Regions from separate parts of the Homo sapiens genome. Here region 1 is linked to region 2. Evidence: promoter capture Hi-C in 16 types of primary human blood cells and fetal thymus (Javierre and others, 2016). All regions are on one chromosome and are shown on one strand. The core of a region is centred on a gene start or on the middle of the fragment in contact, and the rest is flanking DNA. Distances in the headings are between cores, read along the strand shown. Region 1 has its middle 200 kb from the start of RBM26. Region 2 holds the start of MYCBP2 (MYC binding protein 2).

Region 1 (3,258 bases), core at 195-2,694, 1.9 Mb after region 2:
AGCAAAGGACAAAAAGTCTTCAATAACAGTATTGCTATCATTGGTGGTGGTGGTGGTGGTGCTTTTCACTTTGTTTCTTTTAGTCATAAATCTCAAAACCCATTGCCATTCCATAAATGTAAAATGTATTACACATAAATAAGGCAACATAACCATGCATTAGATTTCTGGTGGACTACCTTGCTCTAAGAGTAGGAAAAACATGTTTCTGAGACTACTTTCTTTAATTGCATATCATGTCTCTTCCATCAGGTTAAACGTAGAATCCAGAAAGATCATTATTGGCACTTATAGTATCCAAAAGGGTCTGGAGTGCTAAGATGCCATGTTGGCTACTGAAAACTACAAGAAGTAACCTTTAGAAATCTTACTAAAATTGCATCTATTATAAACCAGGCATCATTTGGGGCTACCCTGTCCCTCAAAGAGTTGTCAAGCTGGCTCCCCTGATTTCACTTCTATGTGAGTCCAGAATCCTCCATACATTTTTGGCATATTTCTGACCTGTCTGCTTTTCCATTCCTAATGAGATCTGCCATCTCAGTTTGACCCTGCACTATTTCCCATGAGAAAGCCAATGACCCTCATGAATACTGTGAGTTTAGTAAGTCAGCTCAGCTTGACAGTTACAGAAAGAGAGGTCGTTGTTCCCCACACAGCATTCTCCAGCCCACAGGCCTGCCTCCTGCTCCTCCACCTCTGAGAGAACCAAGACCCTTAAAAAATGTCCATGCCCACCATGGCCTACATCCACTGCATCTGGGAAATGTCCACGCCCACCATGGCCTGTCCACTGCTTCTTGGAAATGTCCACACACACCATGGTCTACATCCACTGCTTCTGGGAGATGTCCACGCCCACATGGCCTATGTCCACTGCTTCTGGGAGATGTCCACGCCCACCATGGCCTACGTTCACTGTTTCTGGGATATGGAGCAGCCCTACACTTTCACTCTGGAATTCAGCGGAATAACACGTCTGCTGTCTCACTACAACTTCTCACCCTGAAGAATTGGTGAGAAGAGCCATATTTATTTATGGCTGAGGCTTCTCCCCTAGGCCCAACCCCACAAGTGGTCTTACTTCTTTCCGGGAAAAACAATAATGGTTTCCGGAGCTTCTCCTCTCTTAAACCCAGAAGACCTCATCACTCTTCCTACTTCTATCCAGATGTTCATTTATTGGAAACTCCTGAGGGACAACCTGCGTGTAACAAGGTGGCTGCCTTAACCACAAATGAACCTGACAATTGATTTATGGAATCCGAGGCAGTTTAAATATTTTCTTAATCTATCTGACACGATGCTGAAGCCTTCCAAAGGGCAGGAGGTAAATAAATTCCTGTGTTTACACATGTTAGAGAGATCAGCTTCTCACAAGAGAATCACAGATGTGAGAATAATCACTGTTGGCAGGCTTGGGCCACCTTTGAGTCACCTCCTCACCAATGGTGAGAGGTACCTGTTCTTCCCCTCCTCCCTGCTCCTTCTTATATAGACAGCTTGGCAGTGGGAATGGAGACATGGAAAGCAATCATTCCCATATCAACCCACTGTTAATGTCTGAGCTGGTACCCTGGATTGACACTTTTGTTCAGTCTTACTCCCTCCTATTAACGAATTTCGTGCCCATCTTTTCCTCTTCCAAGATCAGTTTTATCAACCGTGAAATCTAGGGTGGCCAAAGTGGCATTTAAAGAGACCTTACCTCTCTTGGTCTGTGTTTCTCCAGTGATGCTTATCTACAAAGGGCTTCTTCCGCAACTAGCACTGACCATTAGTCTAATTTTTTAGGACACATGCTATGACATATTTTCTAATGGCCCATTGCAGGAGGCTCTCAAATAATAGTATGTGTGTAGTGACCCTTTCTTCTCTATTTTGTTTTATGAGCAGGAGCTGGACATTAGGATGCACACGAGTCCAAAATTTGGTATCAAAGTAATTAACTCACTTTTGAGTCCCAGCAACAACCACATGGCTGAATGAGTACTGTCAGACAATGTGGCCCAAATGTCACATACAGCCTTTCTGTCCCTTGAATATTAGCTCAACTTTGATCAAAATGCCCAGCTTCATAGCCCCTGTGAATTGAGCTCTCTCCCTATAATTTTTGTGGATTTTTTTTCTCAAAAAGGGTAACACTGATGTTTGTTGTGGACTCTTGACCTTAATTCCTCTGGTTGCTCTCAGTTCCTATATGGGGATCTGACACCCGAGTTCTGCCCTCTCACAAGTCACTGTACAGACCAAAAATATTTCACTGTTTTCCACAAGAAATGCAATTACATTCGTCAACTTAGTGAATTCAACAATGTGTCTGAAGCTCTAACAGGCTACAGAGAGTATCGTCCCTCACACAGCTTTCCCCATCTCACTGGCTCCCTCCATTAAGTTGATGTATAACCCTTCCTCACACAGTCTACCCATTGAAAAATAGGATCCAATCCACCTGCTTAATACTGTTTCTTTTTCAGGTAGCCACATCTCCAGGAAAGTCCATTTCCTCTAAGTCCCTTGGAATTTCAAAACTTAAAAATTTTCTTCAATCACCTACATTACGTTGTTGGGGAAATGCTCCTGCCAACAGCCAACACCTGAAGGGTCAAAGAAAGAAAAATTAAATGCAGTCATGCGCCACAAAATATTTTGCTCAGTGATGGACTGCATATGCCATGGTGGTCTCCTAAGATTGTAATAGAGCGATAAATTCCCATCACCTAGTACATTGTACGCATCATAACATCATAGCACAACACGTTATTCATGCTGGTGTAAACAAACCTATTGCACTGCCAGTTGTATAAAAGTATTACACATATAATCACACACAGTACATAATACTTGATATGATAATAAATGTCTGTGTTACTGGTTTATGTATTTACTATGTAGTTTTATACCTTTTTAGAGTGTATGCCTACTTATAAAAGAAAAGTTAACTGTAAAACAGCTTCAGGCAGGTCCTCCAGGAGGTATTCTAGAAGAAGGCATTGTTATCATAGGAGATGTCAGCTCCATGAGTGTTGTTGCCCCTGAAGTCCTTCCAGTGGGACAAGATGTGGAAGTGGAAGACAGTGATATTGATAAATCTGGCCCCATGTAGGCCTAGGCTAATGTTTGTGTCTTAGTTTGTAACAAAAAAGTTTAAATGCTAAAAAATAAATTTTTAAAAATAGAAAAAAAGCTTATAGAATAAGGACATAAAGGAAGAAAGTATTTTATACAACTCGGCAATGTGTTTGTGTTTTAAGCTAA
Region 2 (3,480 bases), core at 865-3,364:
AAGCATTAGCAAGAAACAGACTTGTGCCATTCTGGCCTTCAGTTCAGATAGCAAAAAATAGTTACACACGTTTACATCCATATGGTAAAACTACTGCTGTGCCCAATCCTGTAAACAATCACAGACATGAGAAAACTGGTTAACCTAGAAAAAGTGTGAACAAAGCTCCAGCTTTACAACTGTCTCCAACAGATAAGCCATGATACCTAGTGATAAGCTACAAATACCTGACTTACAGCCTCGTCCCTTTCATAATGGGAGAAAAAGACACCTAACAATTGCCTAATAAATTGCACATTCAATAAATAACAGTAAACTCTTTAACTCATTTTGACAGTTTCCTACTATGTTTTCCCCATGTACTGCAAGAAGCTGTGGGAAAAAAAAGATGAAGCCAACTCCCAATTACCACTGTCAAAGCTGGTGAAACAAGTCAGTCACCAACCTTCAGGGTATGCGGCATGTAAGGGCATGGAAAAGAAAACAATAGGAGAGCCCTCAGCAAAAAAAAGCACCCACATTTTAAGAAAAAGAAAATGAAACCAACTGAACATCTACATCAAGGAAGCTGAAGGTGTAGCCAACCCAAGTAAAAGAGACAAATCTACGCGCTATTCAGATTTTCTAGCTAGTGGCAGTTGAACGCTGTACCAGCTGTCATATTCTGAAGTTCTGCAGTTTTCCCCTTTTCCCTACAAAACCCTCTCTACTCTAAAGCCTGTAAGTAACAGAGGAAATCGAACAGAGGATGAAGAGAAATGGCCGATGGGACATCAGATCACAAGAGTAACTGCAACCTCATTTCTAGAAGACCAAAAGGCCCGGTTATCAAAGTACAGCTCTAAAAATCTCTATCAGACACCTTTCGCATCCACACAGATCTCCATCTGCGTCCCTTATTCATAAATCTTTTTAAAGCAAACCTCACGCCTATCCCTCGGGCCTGCTTATCCAAAACTCAACCAATCTATACCATGACTCCTCTTGGTGAAAGGCAGATTGAAGGGAGGTGGAAAGGGCTGGAAGGAATGTCATGGGAGAGGCGGCACGTGCAAATAACATTGCGGCAGAGACACTGAAAACGCCACTTCCCTTGCCACTGTTGCAATTCTCTTCGTGTATCATCCTCTTACCCTCTCTACCCATGCCACCTCCTACCTCAACGATACACACACGTGTCACAGCCGACCAGCACCATCGCCTTTTCCAGCATCACAGGTTCCCCTACCACCCCTCACTATCCCCCCACATAGGCAGGCAGACACACACACACACACACACACACACACACACACACACACACACGAGAAACTGCAGCCACCGCACCCTCCTATCTCGATAAGTGCTCCTGCCAACAGACATCCAGAGCGGACTGAAAGCTCAATAAATGCGCAGGTACACACACGCAAGCACACACACACGCGGGTGCACGCGCGGCATGGGGCGCAAGGAAGGGCGGCATGGGGCGCAAGGAAGGGCACCCTGGGGACGCACCTGGAGGCTGGGTGTCCAGCGCTGCCGCCCCCCTGGTCCCTGTCATTGAGCGCAGCGGTATAAATCCTCCGGTAGCGGTCGGCCAGGGCCCGGCCTGACAGCAGCAGCTGGTAGTGACCCCGGGAGTCCGCGGCGGGTAGCCCCAGCCCCAGCCCCGCAGCAGCCACGGAGCCGTCGGGAACCGGCATGAACAGCGCCCCCGGCGCCGGGGAGGAAGAGAAGGTGGCGGCTGGGTAGAATCCGTCCCCGCCGAGCCCCGAGGAGGCGGCGGCGGGGGAGGCAGTCGCTGCGCACATCATCATCCTCGCCGCCGCCGCCGCCGCCGCCGCCTCGTCCCCGCGGGCCGGGCGGGCAGACACGCGCGCGCACACACAGCCCTTTTCCAACGACGACGGCTCCGGCGGCGGCCTCTGGCTCCCGCAGCAGGGAGACTACAAAGACAGCGACCTCCTTCTCCTCCTCCTTCTTCTCCTCCTCCCCCCCGCGCCGCCCTCGCCGCTACTGGGGCCGCTCATCTAACCCCGCCACCCCGGGAATGTGAGGAGGAGGCGGTGCCGCCACTGCCGCCGCCACCACCGCTACCACCGCCACCACCGCCGGGGCTACCCGCAATGGGAAGCTGCCGGCCTCACAGAGCATGCGCCACTCCTCGCACATGCTCAGTAACTGCCGCCCCTTTTCCTCCCCACCCCCTCTCCGCCACCACTCCCTCCGCCTCGGGGCTTTGGGTTTGGGGCTGTTGGGTTGTGCGGAATCTGAAGTAGTCCACTTCTCCGGGTTTTACTGGCAGCTTGAAGAAGAGTAAGGAAAGTGCTGGGGAGGCTGTCAGCTACTGACGTTCGACTTCAGGTTCCCTCCAGGTGGAAGAACGAGGACCAGAAAGCAAGGGGGAACGTGCCCATCGCCAGAGGAGGAGTGGCACGCTCTTCTGCTACCTCTTCTCCAAGGCTCTGCTGCCAACAGGAAGATTTACTGTGAATTGTGCTGGTTAATTCAGAGTTTAAGGCAGAGAAAACCATCCCAATTAGAAGTGCCTTTAGCGATCTTATTTTATATGGTTTTTGTCATTAGGATTTACGCTTGTTTAACACAGCTTTTACTTACAAAGACAGGTAGTAATCTAGCACATTCTTTTTTGTGTGTGAAAGTATTTTGTGTGTGAAAGTATAACAGATAGGCTAGTATTCACAAGCCAGAGTCATTCCCAAATTCTTGTTCTCAACGGAGCAATAATATTTTTTAAATTACTCTTTTTTATTGACTCCTCACTCACCTAAGAGTGCACTTTTATCTCTTGGCAGTGGTCATTTAATGGTTTATTTTTTTCTGCCCAAACTTACATTTTTAAAGATAATTCTTGAATGCGATCTGAAACAATAATTGTGACGGAGACTGTATAGCGTCTGAAAATGTCAGATCCATCACATATCTTGTTGTTGTCTATAAAAAAGTAACATTTGCTCAGTCCTTTGTTCCAAGCTAACCTACGAACCCCATCTAAGTATATGCTCTAGAAATATACGTGCCAATGCACTTTGATTCCTACTACGTTTTATCCTTTGACTCTCAATTTGAAGAGTTTCCTAATTTACAGTCCTGACAAAATAATTTATAAGTTCTGTCATCCCAGTACTGTATCTTTCATCTATGTACTAGTTCTTATATCTGTGCCTCTTCTTCGGATGGCCTTCTCTTAAAAAAAAATAAAATAAATGTTAAAAAATCCTCCTTAGTGTTTGAGAAGTGCAAACAACAAGGAATAGGAAAGTAAATTAATTCTAGTTTTAGGGTGGAAGGTTGCTGAAAGCAATGCATTTTTTTCTGAAGCTTTAAATAATGGATGGATTTCATTTAGTTTTTTTAAAGATAATTAGCAGTGGGATAAACATAGGAACAAAGGACAAGACATGTGGAATCATAGTATTTTAGTACTGTAATTAGCCCTGTTAAGTTTTTGTATTTGTCTTGTTTCCTTACCTAAGTTCC

What was found. The method cuts DNA at HindIII sites, captures the fragments that hold promoters and counts their contacts. A CHiCAGO score of 5 or more calls a contact.
Region 1: a contact is called between a fragment that was not itself captured here and the fragment with the promoter of MYCBP2 in region 2, in 1 of 17 cell types (total B cells). The highest score is 5.0, in total B cells.

Annotation. Positions count from the first base shown.
Region 1 is chr13:79,200,129-79,203,386 of GRCh38, forward strand. No RefSeq gene overlaps it. Among named protein-coding and RNA genes, the nearest start is that of RBM26, 200 kb to the right of the region's middle. The HindIII fragment of the contact is 3,482 bases long and covers 1-3,185 here.
Region 2 is chr13:77,324,980-77,328,459 of GRCh38, forward strand. It overlaps MYCBP2 (MYC binding protein 2), which reads right to left and starts at 2,115. Exons shown (of 83, transcript NM_015057.5): 1 at 1,495-2,115. The coding sequence starts at 1,796. It overlaps LOC127898562, which reads right to left and starts at 2,009. Exons shown (of 1, transcript NM_001414702.1): 1 at 1,926-2,009. The coding sequence starts at 2,009. The coding sequence ends at 1,926. It overlaps LOC107984564 (a long non-coding RNA gene), which reads left to right and starts at 2,066. Exons shown (of 2, transcript XR_001749930.2): 1 at 2,066-2,156; 2 at 2,285-3,219. RefSeq lists enhancers at 415-594, 2,265-2,594 and silencers at 1,535-1,654, 1,695-2,074. The HindIII fragment of the contact is 13,146 bases long and covers 1-3,319 here.